Linked DNA regions of Homo sapiens: regions 2, 3, 4, 5, 6 and 7 are each linked to region 1. The links are contacts of gene promoters, found by promoter capture Hi-C in blood cells and fetal thymus (Javierre and others, 2016). All regions are on one chromosome and are shown on one strand. The core of a region is centred on a gene start or on the middle of the fragment in contact, and the rest is flanking DNA. Distances in the headings are between cores, read along the strand shown.

Region 1 (3,598 bases), core at 300-2,799:
GTGCCCTGTCCGCAGTCGCTGAATGTCACTGCTCCCTCTTCCTCCCGATCAGGGTAGACACAGCTCCCGAGGCGTCCCCCACCCCAAAACTGCCGCGATCGCCCGAAGGCGCAAAGCCTGGGCGAAGGACGAAGTTTGGGGCCCACAGCGACGGGAGTGGGGACGCGTTGGCGAGGACCGCACCTCAGTCCCAGCCCTGGCGGGCACACTCCCCGCCCCAAACGGCCCAGGCGTCCCCATCCTCCCGCGGACACCAGCGTCTCCGCCCTCCCCCGAGGGCGGCGAGAGGAGCCCCCCGGGGCGGAGGCAGGTACCCCCGGGGCGGAGACTGGGGCGGGCGGGGTCCGGGCTGCGCCCCCGGCCAGGCCGGGCGGGCTGGCGGGCGGCGCGGGGGGAGCGGGGCTGGGCGGCGCTGCCTCGGGCTCTGTGCGCTGCAGCCCGGAGCCGAGGAGGAGGAGGCGGAGGAGGAGAAGGAGGCGGCGGCGGTGGGTCCCGGGCGGGGGGAGCGCGGCGCTGCGGACCCGGGCGGCTGGCAAAGGACGAGGCGGAGGCTGAGGAAGGCAGCGGGGAGACCCAGGCTGCAGCAACAAAGGGCAGCGAGCGATTGGCCGGGCTGCAGGCGAGGTTAGCCGGGGACCCGGGTGGCCGGAGGCAGCGGCGAGCGGTGCACGTGCTTGCAGACACGGGCGAGTGTGGAGCCGGGGGGTGCACGCCCGGTGGGTAGGGGCTTGCTCCCCCGAGGCATGGGATGGCGAGGAGGCTGCAGCGACATCGTTCTGCCTGCACCCGGCCTGGGGCTGGCAGGGTAGGGGTGTGTTGGGGGGGGAAGGATGCGAGCCAGGGGGCGGGCGAGTAGTCGCCCGGGACGGGACGGGACGGGAGAGAGGGTGGAGGAGGGGGCGGGATGGAACGCTCCGGGCGGCGCGCCCGTCCGCACACTCCACCGAAGGAGCTGGCGACTGAGAACCTCGAATTTTAACTTCGCGTGCCCGCCCGCGCGCGCCCGCCCGCGCCCACCCCTAAATCCTGCGGCCGCCGCCAGCGATCAGCTCTCACACAAACTTTAGCTGCGGGCTAGGGGGTTTGGGGTTGAGTGGGGGAGGGGAGAGGGAAAAGGCCTCCTGATTGGCGTCGTCTGCAGCCAATAAGGCTACGCTCCTCTGCTGCGAGTAGACCCAATCCTTTCCTAGAGGTGGAGGGGGCGGGTAGGTGGAAGTAGAGGTGGCGCGGTATCTAGGAGAGAGAAAAAGGGCTGGACCAATAGGTGCCCGGAAGAGGCGGACCCAGCGGTCTGTTGATTGGTATTGGCAGTGGACCCTCCCCCGGGGTGGTGCCGGAGGGGGGGATGATGGGTCGAGGGGTGTGTTTATGTGGAAGCGAGATGACCGGCAGGAACCTGCCCCAATGGGCTGCAGAGTGGTTAGTGAGTGGGTGACAGACAGACCCGTAGGCCAACGGGTGGCCTTAAGTGTCTTTGGTCTCCTCCAATGGAGCAGCGGCGGGGCGGGACCGCGACTCGGGTTTAATGAGACTCCATTGGGCTGTAATCAGTGTCATGTCGGATTCATGTCAACGACAACAACAGGGGGACACAAAATGGCGGCGGCTTAGCTCCTACCCCTGGCGGCGGCGGCAGCGGTGGCGGAGGCGACGGCACCTCCTCCAGGCGGCAGCCGCAGTTTCTCAGGCAGCGGCAGCGCCCCCGGCAGGCGCGGTGGCGGTGGCGCGCAGCCAGGTCTGTCACCCACCCCGCGCGTTCCCAGGGGGAGGAGACTGGGCGGGAGGGGGGAACAGACGGGGGGGGATTCAGGGGCTTGCGACGCCCCTCCCACAGGCCTCTGCGCGAGGGTCACCGCGGGGCCGCTCGGGGTCAGGCTGCCCCTGAGCGTGACGGTAGGGGGCGGGGGAAAGGGGAGGAGGGACAGGCCCCGCCCCTCGGCAGGGCTCTAGGGCAAGGGGGCGGGGCTCGAGGGCGGAGGGGGGCGGGGCGGGATCGGGTGGGGGCGGGGTTCGGGGAGTCGGAAGGCGGGGGCTGAGAGGGAATTTCTGAGTGGGAGTGAACTGGTAGGAGCGGTGGGGGGCCGGCGAGGGTGTGAGGAAGACTAGTGAGGGTTGGGTGGGAGGAGAAGCTGAAGGTGTAGAAGCAGGTGCAGAGGGAGAGTTAGGGAGGGATGCAATTTGAGAGAAGTGGAAGGCGGACCGAGGGGTGTGTGAGGGCAGGTGAGATGATACCGAAGGCGAGATTGCAGTTGTCTGGGCGCAGAGTAGGTGGGTTTGGGTGTGGTGGATGTGGAGTAGAGTTGAAGCGGTGCAGAGTGTTGGGTTTGGGGAGGCGTTGAGGGGTTTGGGGAGGCATTGAGGCGCATGTGAGGAGCAGGTACGATTGCAGTGATGGGAAAGAGGTATCTGGGTGGATCGCATGTTGGAATAAGAAGGAGGTTTGCTAGCTTTGGGGTATGAAGTATTTTTTAAAAACGTGGAAGGATGGGATGGTTGTGCTTGGGAGAGTTTCTGAAAGATGATGCTAAGACAGCAGAGCAAACTTAAATATGAAGGAAGGGGAGAGAGGCTGCTTAGAACTTGCAAAATCTGTGGCAGAAAATCTCCTGGGGACAAGGGATTGGTAGGGGTGGGACAAGGCGGCAGGTGTGAAGAAAGTGGGTGGAGCTGTACAGTAATTTTCGGTGAATGTGATTTGGTGGACTGTGCCAGGGGTGAGGATGGGGCAGAGAAAGGTGTTAGTTTGGGAGACAAGTTGTTTGATAGGCTGTATTTATTATTTTTTATAAAAATGAGAAAAGGGTCTCACTATGTTGCCCAGGCTGGTCTCGAACTCCTGGCCTCAAGTGATCTGCCCACCTCTGCCTGACTGATGGGATTACAGACGTGAGCTATGGCGACCCGTGATACGCTGGATTCATTATGTTAAACTTGATCTGGAGTCTTCAAGGGAGTGTCCGGCAGCAGGGTATCCCAGGAAGAGACATGCACCATACCTTGGGATAGGACATTTTGCATAGCTTTGAATTTGCTAGTACTTTGCTGTGGGCAGAGTGCAGGGAGTGGTAGGAGATGACCAGGCAAAGGCAGAGGAGGGGTTAGATTACAAATGGTGTCCTATGCCCCATGAAGGAGTTTAAGCCCTGTAATTGGTAGAAGGTGTTGGGACGTGTTAAAGAGAGTGTTAGACAGAAGTTGTGAAGGGGTAGTGATAAAGAATTACAGATGTGGGAAATAGGAAATGAAGACCAACGAACCAAGTATGTTTGGGGTTGGAGGTACCAAGGAAATTCAGGGTAGAGCATATGAGGGCCCCTCCTATATGGACAGAAGGTGGAAATAGCAAATGGAAATTAGTTGTGTTCGAACAGTCTTAGTTCTATGGGGCCCCAAGAAGGTTTTTTGTGTTTTTTTTTTTTTAAAGTGCATTCTTCCTGTCTTACTTGTATACCCTAGATTTTTTGGCATAGCCTTGAAATAAAACACTCCATTTTTTTCTTACTCATAAGTTCTTTTTTTTTTTTTTTTTTTTTTTGAGACGGAGTCTCAGTCTGTCGCCCAGGCTGGAGTGCAGTGGCGCCATCTCGGCTCACTGCAA
Region 2 (3,598 bases), core at 576-3,075, 690 kb before region 1:
TATTAACATTTTGGTATATTTCTTTGAATATTTCCACCACCAGAAGGTTGCATTTTTTTCTATTTTGATAATTTTGGTTTTTAATTGCACTTTAAAATATAGTCGCAATCATACTGTATCTACAATTTTGCAGTCTACTTATGATTGGTGTTCCTACCTGCAACCTATAATCATGTTATCTTCCTGCTCAAAAACGTTCAATGTTTGCTCACTGGCTTTATGATAAAAGCTAAATATTTATCCTAGCTTTGAAGGACTTTCTCTACTTTTTAATTTGATCTCTAACTTCTCAAGTGAAAAACAGTTCTGCTTCTGCTAAAGGGATTAATAAAACTTTAGGTTTTTCTCTTTCATGTGTGTTTTTTTCTCATACAGTTCCACCATGGAGAATGCTCTTATTCCTTCCTCACTTCCTGAATTCTACTGATTTTCCAAGGTGGCCACCCACCACAGTTCAGGAGGGATTACTTCATTAATGGAACCATTCTCTTGAACTTTGTAATACACTATCTAATGAATCTGTTATGTTTTGCATTATATATTTTAGTAACTTTTCTCTGACTATAAAATACATGTTTATTTTGGAAAATTAGAAAGTATAAAGCAAAAATAAATATAATCTGTATTTAGCTGGGTATAATCATTGTAAATACTTTTTTGTCGGAGTGAATATTTATATATAAGAATAATTTTTTTCAGTTTTGTGCTGACTTTTCAATTTAACGTTACATCATGTGTATTTATTTTCCAATGCTATTACTTTATCTGTGAAGTATGGAATTGCTTTTTAAAGTCTTATACAGTTATTTACTTAATTTTTTTTCCAATGTCCCATTCAGAGTATAAGTTTTAGGAGTACAGACACACCATCTTATCTTTCTTTGAATTTCTCCTAACATTCGTCCTTACACAAAGGATGAATAAAGAGCTGCTGAATGATCTTTTTCTTATAGGCCTCTCTCACCTCATTTTTAGGTCAAGGCACTGGACAGGGGTTTACAATGGTTGACAGTGGAGTTGGAGTGGCATATAACATTTCATAGGAATCTTTGTCTAAAAGACTTTAATGCTTTCGAAAGAATATTGGTATCTGGATGTGCCTAATTTCTAGCTACACTCAAGAATTAAACCCAGCTGGAAGCTTACAACACAAGTACAGGCCCACAATGCATGAGATCTCATAAGTAAACTATTTCCTATTTTTTCTTAATACATCTTCTGAATGCATAAAAACAAAGACTTGGAGGAGATTGTAGTACTGTGTGGTTAAGCGTCTTAAATTTTCTATTCTCTAGTAATTGTGGAGTAGCAGCATACCAGTTATGTAATGCTATTTTAAATATTAAAATGCCAGTCTATAAATGGACTAAATTCTCTTCTAAGTGGGCTCATATACTGGCTTCTTTAGGAATAACTGGAACAATTTATTCAGTCTTAGTATTTAGTGTTAAATAATGGTAATAATATTGTTGTGGTGTTTTAGAAAAAAAAAAAGAGTAATAACCAAAAGTTCTTTATCACTTAAGGTCTAGCCTCTTTCCATGAAAATAAATATATAGTACATCCATTTTAACTTTACCAGTAACTTTAATTATGGCCAAATTGTACTACCTTAATAATATGTCAGATCATGAGCAATAATGAGTTGTTTACAAAGTTTTAATTGCTCAGTTACTAGCACAGTATGTTTTCATCTTACCTGTAATAGAGTTGACAACAGAGCGTAGAATTGTTGGTGGTTTAATCAATTCTTTCAAAATGTTAGATTCGGTAGCCAGTGGAAATCCATTGTCTAACATTTCTTCTAAGAGTTCATATACTATGACCACATTATCCTTAATTGCAGCCTCTGAACACTCACCAAAGTAGTCCTGACAAAATACACACAAAATATCACACAATGGAAGGCAAAAAGAAAGGCCTGCTAAATACTTTTTGTTCTGAAGAATAAACTTAGAGTAGCATAATTCATTGCTTAAGCTGCTGAACATATATAAAACAGAGCGGGGGAAAAAACCCTCTATAGTCCGGGCATGGTGGCCCATGCCTGTAATCCCAGCAATTTGGGAGGCTGAGGCGGATGCATCACTTGAGGTCAGGAATTCAAGACCAGCCTGGCCAACATGGTGAAACCCTGTCTCTACTAAAAATACAAAAATTAGCTGAGTGTGATGGTGCACACCTGTGGTCCCAGCTACTTGGGAGGCTGAGGCGGGAGGATTGCTTGAACCCGGGAGGCGGAGGTTGCGGTGAGCCAAGATCATGCTACTGCACTCCAGCCTAGGGAACAGAGTGAGACTCCGTCTCAAACAAAACAAAACAAAACAAAACAAAACAAGCAAACAAAAAAAACCCCTCTATAGTCCTAATATTATTCCTCAATATTTTCTTGATATTTCTAGGTTGAATTTAATTCCTATTACATATTATACCAGAAAGTATTGAAACATTAAATTGGAATTTGAGCTATAAACTTCATTCACCCTGATTATCCCAAAATACATATAGATAAGCTTAAATTATTTGGTATATTCCGCAAGACAAAATAATAAAATGTAAATATAGAAGAGTTCATAACCAATGAAAATCTTGAGACCATTGAGAGAACTGTATGCGGAGGGCATTATTGTTTCCTGATGATATACAGTCATCCCTTGGTATTTGTGGGAATTAGTTCCAGGATCCCCTGTAGATACCAAAGTTCACAATTCTCAAGTCGCTGACATAAAATGGCATAGTATTTGCACATAACTTATACACATCCTCCTATATACTTTAAATCACCTCTAGATTACTTGTAATATCTAACACAGTGTAAATGCTATGTAACTATTTGTTATACTGTATTGTTCAAGTAATAATGAGAAGAAGTTTGTACATGTTCAGTTCGATTTTTTTGTTCAAATATTTGCCATGTAAGGTTGGGTGACTTTATGGATGCAGAACCCATGTATATGGAGAGCCAACTGTAATCTGTAATACATATAAAAAATAGTGAATAGAGCAGCCATGTGTGTAACTGTATACCACACAGAAAAGGGCTTATGAATTTACGCTTAAACAGAGAGAGACAGACAGTAAACATCAAAACCTGGGTAATTAAATAATATAATCATGTCTCACCTTCAGCTAACTTGGGTCATTTAACTTAGAAAGGTATGATAGATAACCAACCTGAAAAGTGTCAGCAACTCGATGTAGGAACTCAATTACAAAGAGAGGTGGCACTTCGGTCTGTATGACAGATACAAAGAAGAGCTTATCCCGGTAGATACTGATGAGGTAGTGGTGAGGTGTTGAAATGACAGGTGGTACATTTTCAACATCAGCAGCTTTCTCTTGAGCTTCAAAGAAATAATCACAGACAGACTGGCTCACAACGCTCTTCCAGTGCTTCTCTAGAAATATGTCACCGGAACAGTTTATGAGAAATAGACTGTGGATCATTTTCTGTTGGGGCAAAGAAAGGTTTAAATTTATTATACATTAAATATCATTTAACATACACAAAAAGATTATACACCTTGACCAAGTGGGATTTATTCTAAGAATGCAAGGCTGGTTCAACATACAAAAATCAATCAACATGATATACAAT
Region 3 (3,598 bases), core at 449-2,948, 650 kb before region 1:
TTGGGCTCAAGCCATCCTTCCATCTGAGCCTCCCAGGTAGCTCGGACTACAGGTGTGTGGTCTCCCTATGTTGCCCAAGCTGGTTTTGAACCCCTAGGCTCAAGTGGTCTTCCTGCCTTGGTCTCCCTCAGTGCTGGGATTACAGGTGTGAGCCATTGCACCTGGCTAGACAGCTGATTGGCTGGGCGCGGTGGCTCACCTGTAATCCCAGCATTTTGGGAGGCCGAGGTGGGCGGATCACCTGAGGTTGGGAGTTTGAGACCAGCCTGACCAACATGGAGAAACCCCATCTCTTATTAAAAATACAAAATCAGCCGGGTATGGTGGCACATGCCTATAATCCCAGCTGCTAGGGAGGTTGAGGCAGGAGAATTACTTGAACCTGGGAGGCAGAGGTTGCAGTGAGCCGAGATCGCGCCATTGCACCCCAGCCTGGGCAACAAGAGTGAAACTCCATCTCAAAAAAAAAAAAAAAAAAAAAGCGGATCACGAGGTCAGGATATCAAGACCATCCTGGCCAACATGGTGAAACCCCATCTCTACTAAAATACAAAAAATTTGCCAGGCCTGGTGGCGCACGCCTAGGGGATTGCTTGAACCCGGGAGGCAGAGGTTGCAGTGAGCCAAGAGTGCACCACTGCCCTCCAGCTTGGTGACAGAGTGGGACTCCATGTCAAAAAAAAAAAAAAAACGGTTAGATGCAAATATCAAAAATGAGTTAAAAAATATCTTTGGTGTGGCTTCAATTTTATTAACTATTTTAATATTGCAGACCCATATCTTCCCTTAATTATACTGAATTTAGTATATTTGTTAAAAAATAAAGTTTTAAGACTACCTGTTTTGGTATCAAAATTAGTTTTTTTTTTTTCTTTTTTTTTGAGATGGAGTCTTGCTCTGTCACCTAGGCTGGAGTGCAGTGGCATGATCTCTGCTCACTGCAAGCTCCACCTTGGGTTCACACCATTCTCCTGCCTCAGCCTCCCAAGTGGCTGGGACTACAGGCACCCGCCACCACGCCCGGCTAATTTTTTTTTTAATTTTTAGTAGAGATGGGGTTTCACTGTGTTAGCCAGGATGGTCTCGATCTCCTGACCTCGTGATCCACCCGCCTTGGCCTCCCAAAGTGCTGGGATTACAGGTGTGAGCCACTGCGCCCGGCTAGGTTTTTTCAAATTGAAAATTTTTTTTCTTTTTCTTTCTTTTTTTTTTTCTTTTGAGATGGAGTCTTGCTCTTGTTGCCCAGGCTGGAGTGCAGTGGAGCAATCTCAGCTCACTGCAACCTCTGCCTCCCAGGTTCAAGTGATTCTCCTGCCTCAGCCTCCCAAGTAGCTGGGACTATAGGTGTGTGCCACCGCGCCCAACTAATTCTTGTATTTTTAGTAAAGATGGGGTTTCACCATATTGGCCAGGCTGGTCTCGAACTCCTGACCTTGTGGTCCTCCTGCCTCAGCCTCCCAAAGTGCTGGGATTACAGGCGTGAGCCACTGTGCCTGGCTTTAATTTGAAAATTTTAATGTTACAAATCAAAGGTAGGTGTTACCAAAGTATGTTAAGCATGAGCAAAAGTGCATTTGATTGTTCAGAGGGCCAAGTTCATGTTAGCTTTGGGATCATGCCTCCAGAGATGTAAGTTTAACTATTATGATAATAACAAAGTAATAATTATGCCATGTGCCAAGGATTCTATTAGACTCTTTACTATAGTTAATTAAATTTTAATCTTCACAGTGCCCTGAACAGCATATAATGGGTAAACCGAGGGACAGACAGTTTAAGAACCAGTTTAAAGGCTGGGTGTGGTGGCTCATGCCTGTATTCCCAGCATTTTGGGAGGCTGAGGTGGGCGGATCACTTGAGGTCAGGAGTTCAAGCCCAGCCTGGCCAACACGGTGAAACCTTGTCTCTACTAAAAACACGAAAAAAAAATTAGCTAGGCATGGTGGTGCGTGCCTTTAGTCCCAGCTACTCGGGAGGCTGAGGTGGGAGAATTGCTTGAACCCCGGGGATGGGGGCGGAGGTTGCAGTGAACCGAGATCATGCTACTGCACTCCAGCCTGGGTGATAGACTGAGACTCCATCTCAAAAAAAAAAAAAAAAAAAAAAAAAGAACCAGCTTAAAGTCATACAGGTAATAGGAAGTCAAGCAGAAGTTGCAAACCAGATACCTTTTGCTACCTTTACAGGCTTGCTACTCAGCCTGGCCCACAGACCAGAAGCAATTAGTGAGACCTGGGAACATAAAGAAATGCAAAATTTTGGTCACTGATACCTGCAGTGCCAAACCTGCATTTTAACAAGATCCACGAGATTTGTATGCATGTTAAAGTTTGAAAAGCACTGATGGTGTGAAATGTGGATTATCTATCAACATTTTCCACAAGAGAAGGTGGGTAACTCTAGCCAGTGTCTCCACCACTGTGAATTGCTAATCCAGCTGCTGCTTTGCTTCAGATCCTGTTTAATCCAGAGGAACAATTGACTAATTCTGCTTGTGGACCTTCGGTCAAAGTCTTAACCACGCCAAGTATAGCTCAGTGTTTTAACAGCTTTTACTCATGGACTGAACACATCAGTTTTATAGACCATGGCTTCATTCTGGATAGGCATTTCCCAGGTTAAAGAGAACAGTGCTAAAAATAGCATTTTCTAAAGAAACTTGAAATCTTCTGGAATATTTGATGTGTTTTATGGCTAGCAAGAAAACAGATTTGTATAAACTGGCTTCCTTACTAATTTCATTTTGTGAACTTAATTATTCTATCACAGGGACAGTGATAGGTAAAGCTAACTTAGACTAGAGCAGCACTGTTCTGTAGAAATATAATGCAAGATTCCTGTAATTTTAAATTTTCTAGTAGCCACATTAAAAAAGGTAAAAAAGAGGCCAGGAGTGTTGGCTCACGCCTGGAAGGCTGAGGCGGGCAGATCGCTTGAGGCCAGGAGTTTGAGACCAGCCTGGCCAACATGGTGAAACTCCGTTTCTACCAAAAATACAAAAAAATTTAGCCAGGTACGGTGGCGCATGCCTGTAGTCCCAGCTACTCGGGAGCCTGAGGCACAAGAATCGCTTGAACCCAGGAGGCAGAGGTTGGAGATCGCACCACTGCACTCCAACCTGGGCGACAGAACAAGACTCCAGCTCAAAAAAAAAAAAAAAGTGAAATGTAGTCCAACTAAAACAATACAATTGTGTTTAGTGGAAAAATATATTGCTTCAGTTATAAAATTTAAATGAATTAAAATTAAATAAATTAAAAATTAAGTTCTTCAGTCCCATCAGCCACATTTCAATATCGGATGGTATTGGTTGCTTCTGATATAACTGATTTCAGACATATGAAATTGATCACCATCCTAGATGGTCAGTAAGTTAATGCCACAGGATATTGTAGTCTATTAATAACATTGTAGAACAGGGCCCAGTCGTTCACACCTATATTCCCAGTGCTTTGGGAGGCCAAGGTGGGAGGGTTGCTTGAGGCTAGGAGTTCAAGACCAGCCTGGGCAACATAGTGAGACCCTGTCTCTACAAAAATAAAAAAATGAAAATTAAAAAAATTATTGCACAGAGAATAAAGGAATAAAAGCAATTTGG
Region 4 (3,598 bases), core at 657-3,156, 630 kb before region 1:
GACTCTTGAATTGTACTTCATTCTTAGAATCAATTATTGGCCTCTCTGTAAGACTGTCTTTACTGAGTTTTTAAACGGAGTATAATAAACTCTTTTGGGAATGCGGTAGATGTTCAAAGGTTTGACTTCTTAAAAAGAGGTGTAACAATTATATTCCTTAAAACTGAGAGGGGACCAATTGAGGGTAGAGGGATTGATGTGGGGGCAGGAGGATACTTTTTTGTTGTTATTGTGATGAAAATGTTCCATAGTTTTGTGGTTATATGACTGTATACATTGAACTGGATGCTTACAAACGGTGATAAAAAGGGTGAAGGAAAATAAAAAACCAAGTAGCCCAATAACACTGCTCATCCTTGTTTTTTTGTTTTGTTTTGTTTTTTAAATAACAAGTTCTAGGAGTTTTTGTTTGAATAAGAATATATAAATCAGGCAGAGTAGTCCCAGTGAAATCATGGTTAGATTTTACTGTATTTGTCTGTTGATCCTTCACCTTCTAAGCACTTAAAATACTTTTTTATTAGACTTGCTTTGATCACATATGCAATTTAAGTGTGAATAAGTAAGTGTATTATCTTTCCCTCCTCCACTCAGCTTTCTTTAAATAGAAAAGGGACAAATATCTCTTTATTGCATATTCAGCCATAGTTGCTCAATCTATGGTGTTAATAAGAGACTGTAATTTTATCTTCTAAAAATCATTACAGATTATAATTATAGGCTGTACCTCATTCTCTTAAAGAAATATTGGCATGTTAGTCCATTGATATTACTGATAGTTGCCAAATGGTGAGAATGGTAACTGGTTTGGAGGCAACTGAAAGGGAGGGGGAATCATCAGTAAACTGGAGACCAATAAAAAATTACACAGAAACAAATCTTTTTGGATAAACTAGATGAATGTCTCTTATTGAGACTGATCCAACAGTATTCACTGGCCCATTTCTTGCTGCTAGATGAGCTTCTGTTTAAGGCATCACTTGTGGTGGAGTTCTTTCTTTTATTTGGATTGGAACCATACTGTGATCTCTTATGGAAAACAGACTTCCTCCAAGTCTGTTAAATATAATTTAAAATTATATCGTTTCTTGTTGATTTGTTTGTTTTTGTTTTGCTTTATTTCATGTTATAGGCATCTGAAATGAATCCTTATATATATAACATACAAGTATATGTATGAGAAGACATGAATATAAGAAGTATAGGAAACATAAGACATGAATAAAAGTTTTAGCTAGACATTTTTAGATGAAAAGATGTGCATTTAAATTTGTAAAAGTTACAAATCGTTCTATAAAAAGTTAGCATATATTTAAATTTTTTGGATACATAATAAGAGAATTATATCACTTCTGATATCCATTGTGAAGACCCTACCACAGTCATTTTTTTGTGAAGGGTAGATAGGGCTCTTGCTTGTACTCTTCCAGGATGTGCCACGGGCTCCCTAATAACATTCAGGGGAGTGCATGTGCAGGTTTGTTACATGGGTATATCATATGATACTGAAGTTTGGTTTTGTAATGATCCCCATCGTCTAAGTAGTGAACATAGTAACCAATAGGTAGTTTTTGAGCCCTTGCTTTCCTGTCTCCCTCCCTGATTTTGGAATCTCCAGTGTCTTTTGTCCCGACATCTTTGTGTCTCTGCGTACCCAGTGTTTAGCTTCCACTTATAAGTGAAAACATGTGATATTTGGCTTTCTGTTTCTATGTTAATTCACTTAGGATAATTCAGCTGCATCCATATTGCTGTAAAGGACATGATTTCGTTCTTTTTTTATGGCTGCATAGTATTCCATGGTGTATATGTATTGAATTTTCTTTATCCATTCTACCATTGATGGGCACCTAAGTTGATTCCATGTCTTTGCTATTGTGAAGAGTGCTGTAATAAACATATCCCTTTTTGGTAGAATGATTCATTTTTTTTCATTTTTTTTATTTTTTAGGCAGAGTCTCGCTCTGTCGCCCAGGCTGGAGCGCAGTGGCACGATCTCGACTCACTGCAACCTCCACCTCCTGGGTTCAAGTGATTCTCCTGCATCAGCCTCCTGAGTAGCTGGGACTACAGGTGCTCGCCACTACACCTGGCTAATTTTTGTATTTTTTATACAGATGGGGTTTCACCTTGTTGGTCAGGATGGTCTTGATCTGCTGACCTCATGATCCACCCACCTCGGCCTCCCAAAGTGCTGGGATTACAGGTGTGAACCACCGTGCCCAGCCTAGAATGATTCATTTTTCTTTGGGTATATACCCATAATGAGATTGCTGGGTCGGATGGTAATTATATTTTAAGTTTTTTGAGAGATCTTTAAACTTCTTTTCACAGGGGCTAACCTAATTTGCATTCCCATCAGCAGTTTATAAGTATTACCTTTTCTCTGCAACCTTGACACCATCTGTTTTTTTTTTTTTTTTTTTTTGACTCTTTAGTAATAGTTATTCTGGGCTGGGCACAGTGGCTCACACCTGTAATCCCAGCATTTTGGGAGGCTAAGGCAGGTGGATGTGCTGAGGTCAGGAGTTCGAGACCAGCCTGGCCAACATGGTGAAACCCCATCTCTACTAAAAATACAAAAATTAGCCAGGCATGGTGGCAGGCACCTTTAATCCCAGCTACTCAGGAGGCTGAGGCAGGAGAATCACTTGAACCTGGGAGGTGGAGGTTGCAGTGAGCTGAGATTGCACCATTGCACTCCGGCCTGGGCGACAAGAGCGAAACTCCGTGTCCAAAAAAAAAAAAAAAAAATAGGTATTCTCATTGGTGTGAGATGGTGTCTCATTGTAGTTTTGATTTGCATCTTTCTCTGATAATCATCTTTTTTTCTAAATGTCTTTATGCTACCTCTAAAATGTTCTACGTATAATAGGCAAATCAAATGTTTAATAAACTGGTGTGTTAGGTTTATTTTCAGGTTGAAATGAAGATAGTTATTTTTATTTTGTGTACCTTTTACATATCAACTTACTTTTAGAAGTATTTCTAACTTGTGTTTTGTGTTTTTTTAGAGAAAATATTCTCTTTGGAATGGGAAATCCTCTGCTTGACATCTCTGCTGTAGTGGACAAAGATTTCCTTGATAAGTAAGTATTAAACTCTTCATATGCACTATGTGGAACTTACATTTGAAGAAGAATGGATGAAAACTTTAGAAGTGAATTTACCACCGAATGTCTTCAATTAAAGGAAAACTCAGGAAATTTAAGTTTGGTGATAGCAAGTGTGCTATCATTAACTATTGAATAACTGAGTACAGTTTTCCTTGGGAAAACTTATATACATTGCTATTTTTACTTAAAACTTTTTTGCTTATTATTTGGAAGGAGAAAAGTTTATATAATTTACCTAATTATTTAATTCCCCAACTTTTAAACTACTGTCAGTGAGCTACGTCTATAATGGTATCATAATCTACAGACATTCTACCCCGAATGTGCCCAGTCTGGTTTCCTCTCAGAAGCTATAATGGGAGAAGAAAGATGATTAGAGAAGACAAGAGAACGTGCAGGATATAATTCAGAGGATATGAAGCTCTGCTGTTTCCGCTTTATTAGTAACTTCCAATGTTTCAACTTAGCTGAGAAATCAGTTT
Region 5 (3,598 bases), core at 399-2,898, 600 kb before region 1:
GAGAATCGCTTGAACAGGTTGCACTGAGTCAAGATCGTGCCACTGCACTCCAGCCTTGGTGACAGAGTGAGACTCTATCTCAACAAATAAACAAACAAACAAAAAACACACAAACCCTCCAAAGCTTTTCTTTCCCTCCTGTGTCATGCTACTTAGTACATAGCCTGGTTCACAGTATATGATTACTATATATTTAATGAATGATTTACATATTATTTGTGAAGTCCAAAATACTTAACGTTGTAGTTGTTCCATCAGTTTTGAACTGCTGAATAAGTGTGACATTACAGATGATTCACTACAGAAGAATATTGAAGATCTTCAAAGCATTGTTAAGGTGATCTCCTTTCAGTTCCTGGAGTGGTGTTCCTGGAAATGACTAATAGAACAGCAAAAAACCGTCTACTTGGGCATTCTTGGTGTTTTATCAATTAAGTCAGAGACCTATAACAGTGTTGGAGTGCTTGTTTTGAAGAGGTCAGCTAACTTACGTTGACACTGTGTGTGTATGAAGAGTGTAATTTTCGTTTCTGTTATACAGGTATTCTCTGAAACCAAATGACCAAATCTTGGCTGAAGACAAACACAAGGAACTGTAAGTGCATTAAACCATTGGTTGTAAATAGTTTACTCTGTCTATGAACTTGATATATGTATATGTAAATTATCTGATTTTCAAAATTATATAATGACAAAGTATAATTAACACTATGACCTTAATCCTAACAATTATGATAACCTACACTATATAATTTACACTACATAAAGTTTACACAGGACATAATTTCTCCTGTATTCACATTAAAAGATGTAGTGTTGTATTCCATCATCTAGACTAAAGTCTTACTGGGAAATATGTCATGCTATTTTCTCTTTCCAGATAAAATATTAAATTGTTCCTATTTTCTTTCTGACTGCTCTACCAGAAAAAAGTAAAAAATAAAAATAAATTGTCACTCTTAATTTTTGGGTCTTACTCCGGTGGATCACCCACCTTCATGGTAATGATAGACAAATATAATTTTGTTTCTGTCACTGGTTTATGCAAAAGTAAATGTCAATTGTTTGGTACAAGGTAAAACACTTTATTTTATTTTTATTTTTTTGAAACAGAGTCTTGTTCTGCTGCCCAGGCTGGAGGCGCAATCTCGGCTCATTGCAACCTCTCATTCCTGGGTTCAAGCAATTCCCCTGCCTTAGCCTCCCAGGTAGCTGGGATTACAGGTGCCCGCCACCATGCCTGGCTAAATTTTGTATTTTAAGTAGAGATGGGGTTTTGCCATGTTGGCCAGGCTGGTCTCAGACTCCTGACCTCAGGTGATCTGCCTGCCTTGGCCTCCCAAAGTGCTGGGATTACAGGTGTGAGCCACTATGCCTGGCTGAAGACATTTTATTTTCACATCTAACTCAGGTCGCTCTTGGTTTAGTTTAATGTAACCTTCACTTGTACTCATTTATAGGGACAGTAATTTTTTTTCGTAGAGGACTTCAAGACTATTATTTTCTTCTTGAGATTAAGTAATAATTTTTTTCCAAGTACTTTTAAACTGCTTTTTAAAAACTGTCTTGAACCTTTTGTAAATTATTTTCTTCTCTCCTATTTAAGGTAACATAAATTGTTAATTATAAAATGGCAGGACCAATGTTCAGGGAAAGGATTTTCTTATGCGTTCTTACCGTTTACACATTCCACTATTATGCTAACCTTTCATCAGTATTTTTATATTTGGCCTATCCTTATTTGAGTATAATCTCCATAGTGGGTTCTCAAATATATATATTGTCAAGAAATTTTTTTGCTCTTTCTTTATTTCCTAGTATAGTCAGTGAGGGCCGGTGATTGTTACTGTAGCATTGGTTGGTTATTATTTATAGGTCTGGTAACAGAGCTTCTTTTGCTTTGGGAATTAAGTAGTTGGTGAGCCTTAAAAGTTCCTTTAGTCCTTAGACTATGACCAATATTAAAAATACCAGAAATCTGCTTTTAAAGAATATGTTATTTAATATGTAACCCATTTTAATGTTTTAATTCATTTGAAAGTTTTTTTAACTGTCCAAGATATAATTCATCTCTATGGGTATAACTTGGCGAACTGATACTTTTTTCTTACCTTTTTTTTTGTTTTTTTGAGACAGACTCTTGCTCCGTCACCTAGGCTGGAGTGTGGTGGCATGATCTTGGCTCACTGCAACCTCTGCTTCCTGGGTTCAAGCGATTCTCCTGCCTCAGCGTCCTGAGTAGCAGGGATTACAGGCACCCGCCACCATGCCCAGCTAATTTTTATATTTTAGTAGAGATGGGGTTTCGCCATGTTGGCCAGGCTGGTCTTGAATTCCTGACCTCAAGCGATCCACCCACCTCAGCCTCCCAAAGTGCTGGGATTATCACAGGCTTGAGCCACCGTGCCCAGCCCCTACATTTTATTACGAAAAGTTTTAAACATATGTTATGTGTTCACCCATATATTTACCACCAAGGTTTTATCATTAACATATTACTGCACTTGTTTTATCTATTTATTCTTCTGTTCGTGCATTACTTCATCTGTTTTTTGGATGCATTTCGAAGTAAATTGTAGACATCAATATGCTTCTCTCTAAATATTTCAACACATATACCATTAACTAGAGTTTTATATTTCAAAGTTTTTTTTTTTTAGTTTCACCTGTTCTAAAATTTCTTATAAACTGAGTCATATATATGTCCTATTTTGTATAAGGCTTCTGTCACTCCCTGTGTTTTTGAAATTCATCAGTGTTGTTGCATATATCAGTTAATTCCTTTTCATTTTTGCAGATTAACATTCTGTTGTTTATTTGTTCTATTATTGCTAAGTATTGCCACTTGTTTGATTTGTCATTATTGATGGTCTTGATATTTTTGGCTGCTGGCTCTCTTCCTTGTAGTTTTTGACCTACATACCAAAGAAAACTTTCAGTTGAATATGGCACCATAAAAGCAGAGTATTAATTTTAAAAAATTAAAACAGTTATTGAATTAATGAATTTCATGAATTATGAAAGCTGTTTATAAATAATCTCATTTGTGTCTTTGCAACTCAAATAGCCAAAATCTTGGTAGGGTGGTGGTCATGGAAGTCAGAGTCTGCTAAGGAGTGTATAACAACTCACCTGCTGTATTAAAAACAAAAAAATCTTTTTGTGTTCAAGACTAAGCTTTAAACAATATAAGAGATATGGATATAAAACAAAATTTTATCTAATCAGTAATTCCATGCTTTATTCTCATAAAACATTATTACAACTTCTTAATTTCAGTCTGTTAAAGCTTGATTAATTATAAAATTGTAAAAATGTGTTGGCACCATCACATTGACCTGCTCTTTGAAAATTAACCCTAATTCTATAAGAGTACCAATAAGAGAGTACAGTGATAGCTCTAATTATCTTGATATTAATAAATAAAGAGTGGCCTGGCATGGTGGTTCACATGTGTAATCCCAACACTTTGAGAGGCTGAGGTGGAAGGATTGCTTGAGGCCAGCAGTACAAGACCAGCCTGGGAAACATAGTGAGACCCCATCTCTACGAAAAACTTAAAAAAGGCCGGGCACGGTGGCTCACGCCTGTAATCCCA
Region 6 (3,598 bases), core at 548-3,047, 580 kb before region 1:
GTTTATATTCCTTTCCATAGGTATTATGTGTCTGTTTTAGTTCATAAAATTGTGGCCTAATTTATATTTTGACCATTATTCAGCACACTGTTAGTACTCAGGACTAATTTCAGTTGCTTATTTAGACACATCGAAATAAATCACATTTTAAGGCTGGGCGCAGTGGCTCCTGCCTGTAATCCCAGCACTTTGGGAGGTTGAGGCCAGGAGTTCGAGACCAGCCTGGGCAATATGGTGAAATCCCGTCTCTACTAACAATACAAAAGTTAGCTGGGCATGGTGGTGCACACTTGTGGTCCCAGCTACTTGGGACTCTGAGGCACGGAAATCGCTTGAACCCAGGAGTCAGAGGTTGCAGTGAGCCATCACGCCACACTGCATTCCAGCCTGAGTGAGATTACGTCTCAAAAAAAATTTTTTTTAAACATAAATAAAGACCACACTATCTTTTTTGAAGATTATGTTCACATTTCATTCTCTCCATTGAACTGTATAGATGTATTACCTGTATATAAAGAATGTAAATTTTTTTGTATTAAAAATCGACACCTTAAAAAAAAACTAATACCACCACAAGGTTAAGCTCTGAGGAGATTTCAGCTTTACAATAATTACATTGTTACAATAATGTTTAACTTCTCAATAATTAAAAACCAAAGCAATGTTGCAACCTTGGTTCAATATTCAAATATATTTTTCTTGGTAACCAAGCTACTTCACTATTTATAGTACTTTATAAATGATTTAGAATTGTTATGCAGTTTTTTCAAAGAAGTATTCATAAGGTAAATTTAGAAAATTATTTTAAAACGAAAGTGATGCCCACCAGATGGTGCTATTTCGCCTGTTTTATCTGCGACAATAAGTAGGAAAAATGAATATAGAACTTCAAAAAAGTGTATGGAAGATCTAGAATATTTGGGCATTGTATTTTGGGTGTAGATGAGCTCAGTGGAAGGAAGCATTCAAATATTCTAAACTTGTGTTTAGTACTGTATGTTTATCTTGATAAAGGTAAAGATGAATTCCCAGAGTTAATATGCCAGATAACCTTTTATTTAGTCTAAATGTTAAGTAGATTTTTTGAAAAGTTGACCTATATGCAAATTTTATTAACTTCATAGCTGTATATGCATGAAAAATGAAATTATTTATTAGATATGTGTTACCAAAATTTGTTTCAAGATTTCTTTATATTGTTAAGTAAACAATATTACTATCTCATTTGAGTTACATTGTGATTTACAAATTAAGGGAAACATTTTGATTTTTTTATGTGTTTGTAATTATTACCCAGAAACTTAGGCTTGAATTCACTATTTTTACAAAGGAAAGAGATGACTCTTCTAAATTAATTTTTGTATTAGGAAGAGGGCAAACTATGTGGTACAGTGTTCACTTAGATGCAGCCATTGAATGACGATCCATTAGAGTCAAAATGGTTAGTTAGCTAATGAAATACACTTTTCAGTAAAGCTGGAAAGATTTAGCCAGCTCTTAAAAGTGTTTCTAGGATTTTAATGTAGTCTTTTTCCCGCTGATTTTATTATCACTCTGTATTCTTCTCTGGTCATGAGATTGAACCATAAAAGTCATGTAGATGCTTGTTATAAGTATTTGCCAAAGTCATCATTGTCAGTGATTTTATTGGCATGTGTGAAATTAGAGATTAAACTTGCTTTTAAATCTTGCATTTGAATTTTTCTTCTGGAAGGGTACATGTATAACTTTCAATTTAATGTTCAATTATTGGTAACAGAATGAAGCATCTCTCTATAGGCCAGTAAATATATATAGTAGATTTTATTGTATTCCTGTACTGTTTTTGAATGAATATTTTACTAATTATATTAACATAATCCTCATACATACCCTTAAGATTAGGACCTACTATAATGCTTTATTTGAACTTGTTTCATAGCATTTGTCTTTTTTAACTTTGGATTATAGTTTTGGAATATAAATCAGATCCCTCCTACAAAAACATAAAGTTCTTCATGCTTTCTCTCATTCCACTTATCACAATACTTTACATGTAGTAGATGACCCTATATATTTTTTATATAAATGAATAGTTTTGTCATGCCAAGTATTGATATTAGTATTAGTGACAACAAGTATTCCTCATTCCATAGTTTTTGTTTTTGTTTTTTTTTTTTTTGAGACAGAGTCTTACTCTGTCACCCAGGGTGGAGTGCAGTGGCAGAATTTCAGCTCACTGCAATGTCTGCCTCCCAGGTTCAAGCAATTCTCCTGTGTCAGCCTTCTTAGTAGCTGGGATTACAGGCATGCACCATCACGCCTGGCTAATTTTTGTAATTTTAGTAGAGATGGGGTTTCACCATATTGGTCAGGCTGGTCTTGAACTCCTGACCTCAGGTGATCCACTCACCTCAGCCTCCCAAAGTGGGATTACAGGCATAAGCTACTGCACCTGGTCTCTGTTCTACAGTTTTTTATCTTATGCTTTTCTGAAATGACTTTTTATAGTTGGGTTTAAAAGGATCATCTCATTGGAATCTCATATCACAGTTATGATGCATTCTGTCATGATGAGGATAAGTGTATATTCAGGTTAAAAAAAATCAAAATATTATTGTCAGCCTGCATCAGTATTAGAGATTGTCTGGTCCAGGAGTTCTCAGATTGTGATTCAAGGGCCTCTTGTGGGAGGGGGGGGTCAGGGGTCCTTAAGACCTTGACAGAAGTTCTGTGAGGGCAGAACTATATTCAAAGTAATACTAAGACTGTGTTTACCCTTTTCATTCTCATTCTCTCATGAGCATAGGTGGAGTTTTCTAGAGGTTGCATACCATGCCATACTGATTGAATGTACAAGTTATATGAAACTCTAGCAGTTCTGTCAAAAGACAAAGTTACAACAAATTTAGTTTAAAGATCTCAGTCAGCTTTATTGTGATTCTAGAATCAGGCAATACTTCATTCCATAAAGTAGAGTGTGTGTTCTAATGAGTTGAGCAGATGGTTGGTTTTATAGACAGAAAGGGCTGAAGAAAGCAGATTGGTCATTTCAAAGTGAATTCTCTTGTAAGGTCTGGATGGGGAGACAGGACAATAGAAAGACTGGTTAATATCAGGTTACTTCAGATTAGGGATTAAAACAGAGGAAACTTCATTATCATGCCCATTGAATACTTCATTATCATGTGCATTGAATATTGAAAATTGTCCTGTTTGGGATATTAGGCTGTTATCTGTCTCTCCTGATTTTTTAGAAAGTCAAGATAACAACTCAGTTTGGGTTTGGTGAGCATGGGTGACTCCATTTTGATTTTTAGTCTGGTCTTCTTTTGGAGCCTAGTGTAGGAGTTTTGTTCAAAACAGTGGCCTATAATTTTGGCTTCATAAGCCAGACATTAAAGAGATTTGCAAAGATTATAAAACAGTGCTTCTCTTGTCACTAAGATGTTTTTTAGTTTGGAAATAGTTATTTTCATAAAATGTTACATTAACATTTAATGAATTTATTCTTAAAATAATAAATATTTAAAAAAGTTATATTTTAACTTCTAATATGATAACTAGGGCTAGATATTAAAGCTCCTTGAATTACTCGATACTCTTTTTAAAGTGTAAA
Region 7 (3,598 bases), core at 755-3,254, 520 kb before region 1:
GTTATGTGATTCATATTTGTTTTGTATAGCTGTAACATTTGGTTAATTGTTTAGTGGGTTATTGAATAGATTATTTTCTTCATTACTTAGTACAGTGGGGATTGAGAATGCTTTGTATCAAGTGTCTTACAAGTATTGGGAAGTTCGAATTAAAAATATTAAAGATGTCAGTCATTTACTTCTTTTTTTTTTTAAGGTGGTAGCCCAATTGAAAATTTTCTGCAAAATCAGTAACTAAGTTATTTTTCCACAATTATAAACTTAGTTGATGGCATTTATTGAGTGCTTACTACGTTCAAGGTAAATGAAATGAAAGAGTGGAATAGTGCATTATACACGCACACACTCAAGGGAAGCAAGTATAAACACCTTATTTCATCTCACTTGTTTAGAAATTTGATTTTGTTTTTTCTTGCTGGGTAACATATCTGTGTTAATCGAAAATTTATGACTTAGAGTGGAATTTCTCTAAAAAGCAGTAGGTGACAGGGATACAAGATAAATAATTTCATCAGAGAATAGAAATTCTTTTTTACAATGGATAAAATTGTGCTTGTAACAGGGATACAAGCACAAACCAAATCAATGTTTAATTATTTTAAAAATATTCAAGGGAAATCTAGTTTTGTTAAAATTTGTATAGGTTGGTAGTGTGCATGTTCTTAAAAATCCAAGAACAATAGCAGCAGCAATTCTTATTTAATCTTTCTTTAGTGTGTCCATTCAACCATTCATTCATCAATTTTTTTTTCTGTGTACCCATTATTCATCAGGCACTATGCTTAAATATCGTGGAACACAAAAAGAAATAGTCTTTAATGCTGTGTTTTACAAATGAGGAAACCTAATCTCGGAGAACTTAAATTACAGTTGTCCTTTGGTATTCATGGGGGATTGGTTCCGGGAACTTCCTCAGATACCAAAATCCAAGGATTCTCAAGTCCCTGATATAAAATTCTGTGGTATTTGTATATAACATATGCATATCCTCCCATGTACTTTAATTTCTAGATTACTTATAATACCTAATATAATGTAAATGCTGTGTAAGTAGTTGTTATACTCTCTTGTTTAGGGAATAATGTCAAGGAAAAACACTCTTTACATGTTCAGTACATATTTTTCCAAATATTTTCAATCTGTGGTTGGTTGAATCCATGGATGTGGAACATACGGATATGGAGGGCCAGCCGTACTTGCCCCATGTCATATAATTAGATGAATATAGAATTAAAGCCAGGTCCGTCTGACAGAGCGTTTGCTTCTAACCATTGAGGAATGTTGCCTACCCTGATGACTCTACTATAGGAAATCATATATTGATATCAAATTGATCTTATATGTCTGTAGTGAGGAACTTGGCCATGTTGGACCTATCCCCTTCCCTCCTTGCTCCTCTCCTTTCTTCCTCCCTTACCCCCACAGCTTCACCCCTCCCTTAGCTCTTTTTTCTGACAGGTGGCTGTTTCCATCCCTGTTTGCTGGCACCTTCTCCACTTAAATTTTGGTATATCCCTTGGTTCCACTCTCTGTGTTCTTCTCTTGTGTATGAGTGTGGATTTTGTGTTTGCTTATCCTGTGTGGAGTTTCTGAGCTTGAATCTGTTAAGAGTATGTCATTAATCAAATTTGGAAATTTTTAAGCCATTTTTTTTTCTTTCTTTCCTTTCCTTTTCCTTTTTTAGAAGCAGGTTCTTGCTTTGTGGTTCAGGCTGCAGTGCAGTGGCACAATCTCAGTTCACTACAGCATCAAACTCTTGGACTGAAGTGATCGTCCTGCCTCAACCTCCTGAGTAGCTGGGACTACAGGCATGCATCACTATGCCTGGCTATTTTTATTTTTTTGTAGAAGTAGGGTCTCACTATGTTGCCCAGGCTGGTTTCAAACTCGTGGGTTCAAGCAGTCCTCCTGCTTTGGCCTCCCAAAATGCTGAGATTATAGTTGTGAGCCACCATGCCTGGTCAAGCCATTATTTTTTCAATTTTTTTTTTTCTGCACCGCACTTCTTTTCTTCTGTTACTCATGCACAAATTTAGATCTTTTAGTATTGTCCTATAGGTCTGAGTCTTTTTTCATTTTTTAAAAAAATCCTTTTTCTGTCCTGCAGATTGGAAAATTTTTATTGATTTATTTTTAAGTATACTGATTAACAGTCTTCTTCATTTTACTATTAAGCCCATCTAGTTAGTTTTAAATTTCTAGTTATTGAATTTTTAAATTCTAATATTTTTATTTTATCTTCTTTATCTTCTGTTTCTTTGCTGAGTCTTTTCACTTTTTCTAGCTGTCTGAAGAGTCCTAGTAGTTTGTGGTTCCCTGGAGCTCTCCGCCTTGGTAATCCAGCCAGAGAACTGGGGCTTTATTTTCTCAGCTCTGCACATACTTCCTGTGACTGTAACCATGTCTGGGTCTAAGTAGTAGGCAGATACTCTTCTCTTGCTTTTTTCTTTCTTGTGTTTTAGTCAAATTATTTTACCTCTTATTATAACTTTGTTTATTATTATTTACCAACACTTTATATGCAAATTGTAGATTATTCAGATTGTATCTTCTACCAGAGTGTTCACTCTTTTCTGTATGAGGCTGATACGGAGTGAGGGGAGAGCTTATTACCTTAATAAAAATTAAGGGTTAAGCTAGGTCAAAGTTGATTTTTCAGTGTTGACAGTTCAGTTGAGCCTGTTTGCTTCTGTTCCTAGAGCCTGAACCTCTAGGACTTTTAATTGATACCAGTGGTCTCCGCTCTGAAACAGTCCACCAGAATGAGGGTACCAAACTGACCTCAGAGGTTTCCAGGTTAATGCAGAGGTTTCTAGCTTAATTTCTTTCTGCCTTCAAAATTTGGCAATTATGTCAAAGGGGAAAATGATCTTTTGTTTTAGGTTTTCAGTTTCCAATGTTACTACTTCAGCCTTATGTAATTGCTAAAATCCCTACTGTTTTCCCCCTATTGCCCCCTTCCTTATCATTATCTTCTGCTAAGCACAAAGTGTGAATTTTCAGGTTCCACATGTAACCAGTATAAGTATATCCTTCCCCCCAAACCCCAGTGGAAATGTGCCACGGATCCTTATTTTTATTCTCCACTCCTTCTAGGGCTTTCATTTCTTGCCTATTATGTTTTTAGTTGCTCTTTTCTTGTTCTGTCTTTGTAAGCACAGCTAGAGTCAGAGAACTTTCTGCTTTTGGAACTATTTTGGTTAACCTCTTTAACTTAGCATTCAGTTTCAGAATTCAGCAAATGTGTTTTGGGGCAAACTAGCTGTGTGTTTTAGGTTTGGGAAATGTCAAATTTTGTTTCTCTGTCTTCATGCTTCTGGCTGCAAATGTTGGCAGGTGGAACAAAAAGCTGCCAGTTCTGGCCTGCCCCTGTGAACAGGTCTCACCTCTCCGGAAATTTATCCACTTTGTCCTTGTTGCTTCAGAGCTCTTTGGTACCATTAACAATGTGACTTATGATTTATATGGCCTTCCTAGGTGTCATCAGTAGGAATGTTGGCTGTGATGCAGTATATGCTACCCAGAATCGGAAGTTCCATATATTATGTTTTGATAAGAGATTTTAGGTGTTTGAGTATTTCTGATGAGTGACATTTTT

What was found. Contacts are between HindIII fragments. The CHiCAGO score rates a contact against its expected background, and 5 or more counts as called.
Region 2: a contact is called between a fragment that was not itself captured here and the fragment with the promoter of KAT6B in region 1, in 1 of 17 cell types (neutrophils). The highest score is 5.4, in neutrophils.
Region 3: a fragment that was not itself captured here is called in contact with the fragment with the promoter of KAT6B in region 1 in 1 of 17 cell types (neutrophils); the score reaches 7.4 in neutrophils.
Region 4: a fragment that was not itself captured here is called in contact with the fragment with the promoter of KAT6B in region 1 in 2 of 17 cell types (non-activated CD4 T cells and neutrophils); the score reaches 5.2 in non-activated CD4 T cells.
Region 5: a contact is called between a fragment that was not itself captured here and the fragment with the promoter of KAT6B in region 1, in 5 of 17 cell types (naive CD8 T cells, total CD4 T cells, naive CD4 T cells and 2 more). The highest score is 5.7, in naive CD8 T cells.
Region 6: a contact is called between a fragment that was not itself captured here and the fragment with the promoter of KAT6B in region 1, in 5 of 17 cell types (fetal thymus, megakaryocytes, total CD4 T cells and 2 more). The highest score is 7.5, in fetal thymus.
Region 7: a fragment that was not itself captured here is called in contact with the fragment with the promoter of KAT6B in region 1 in 1 of 17 cell types (total CD4 T cells); the score reaches 5.6 in total CD4 T cells.

Annotation. Positions count from the first base shown.
Region 1 is chr10:74,825,051-74,828,648 of GRCh38, forward strand. KAT6B (lysine acetyltransferase 6B) reads left to right here and starts at 1,550. Exons shown (of 18, transcript NM_012330.4): 1 at 1,550-1,735. RefSeq lists enhancers at 1-628, 629-1,400 and silencers at 236-405, 516-615, 726-925, 1,616-2,015. The HindIII fragment of the contact is 8,590 bases long and covers 1-3,598 here.
Region 2 is chr10:74,134,933-74,138,530 of GRCh38, forward strand. It overlaps AP3M1 (adaptor related protein complex 3 subunit mu 1), which reads right to left. Exons shown (of 9, transcript NM_012095.6): 2 at 3,175-3,450; 3 at 1,700-1,871. The coding sequence starts at 3,447. Among named protein-coding and RNA genes, the nearest start is that of AP3M1, 14 kb to the right of the region's middle. The HindIII fragment of the contact is 1,372 bases long and covers 1,140-2,511 here.
Region 3 is chr10:74,172,230-74,175,827 of GRCh38, forward strand. The region is part of intron 1 of ADK (adenosine kinase); the gene reads left to right. Among named protein-coding and RNA genes, the nearest start is that of ADK, 23 kb to the left of the region's middle. RefSeq lists an enhancer at 3,573-3,598. The HindIII fragment of the contact is 9,334 bases long and covers 1-3,598 here.
Region 4 is chr10:74,197,750-74,201,347 of GRCh38, forward strand. ADK (adenosine kinase) reads left to right here. Exons shown (of 11, transcript NM_006721.4): 2 at 3,015-3,089. Among named protein-coding and RNA genes, the nearest start is that of ADK, 48 kb to the left of the region's middle. The HindIII fragment of the contact is 5,555 bases long and covers 1-3,598 here.
Region 5 is chr10:74,223,997-74,227,594 of GRCh38, forward strand. It overlaps ADK (adenosine kinase), which reads left to right. Exons shown (of 11, transcript NM_006721.4): 3 at 542-595. Among named protein-coding and RNA genes, the nearest start is that of ADK, 75 kb to the left of the region's middle. The HindIII fragment of the contact is 3,053 bases long and covers 123-3,175 here.
Region 6 is chr10:74,243,448-74,247,045 of GRCh38, forward strand. All of the region lies in intron 3 of ADK (adenosine kinase), which reads left to right. It overlaps LOC124902456 (a long non-coding RNA gene), which reads left to right. Exons shown (of 2, transcript XR_007062198.1): 2 at 1-3,598. Among named protein-coding and RNA genes, the nearest start is that of ADK, 94 kb to the left of the region's middle. The HindIII fragment of the contact is 5,243 bases long and covers 1-3,598 here.
Region 7 is chr10:74,304,062-74,307,659 of GRCh38, forward strand. The region is part of intron 3 of ADK (adenosine kinase); the gene reads left to right. Among named protein-coding and RNA genes, the nearest start is that of ADK, 150 kb to the left of the region's middle. The HindIII fragment of the contact is 4,855 bases long and covers 1-3,598 here.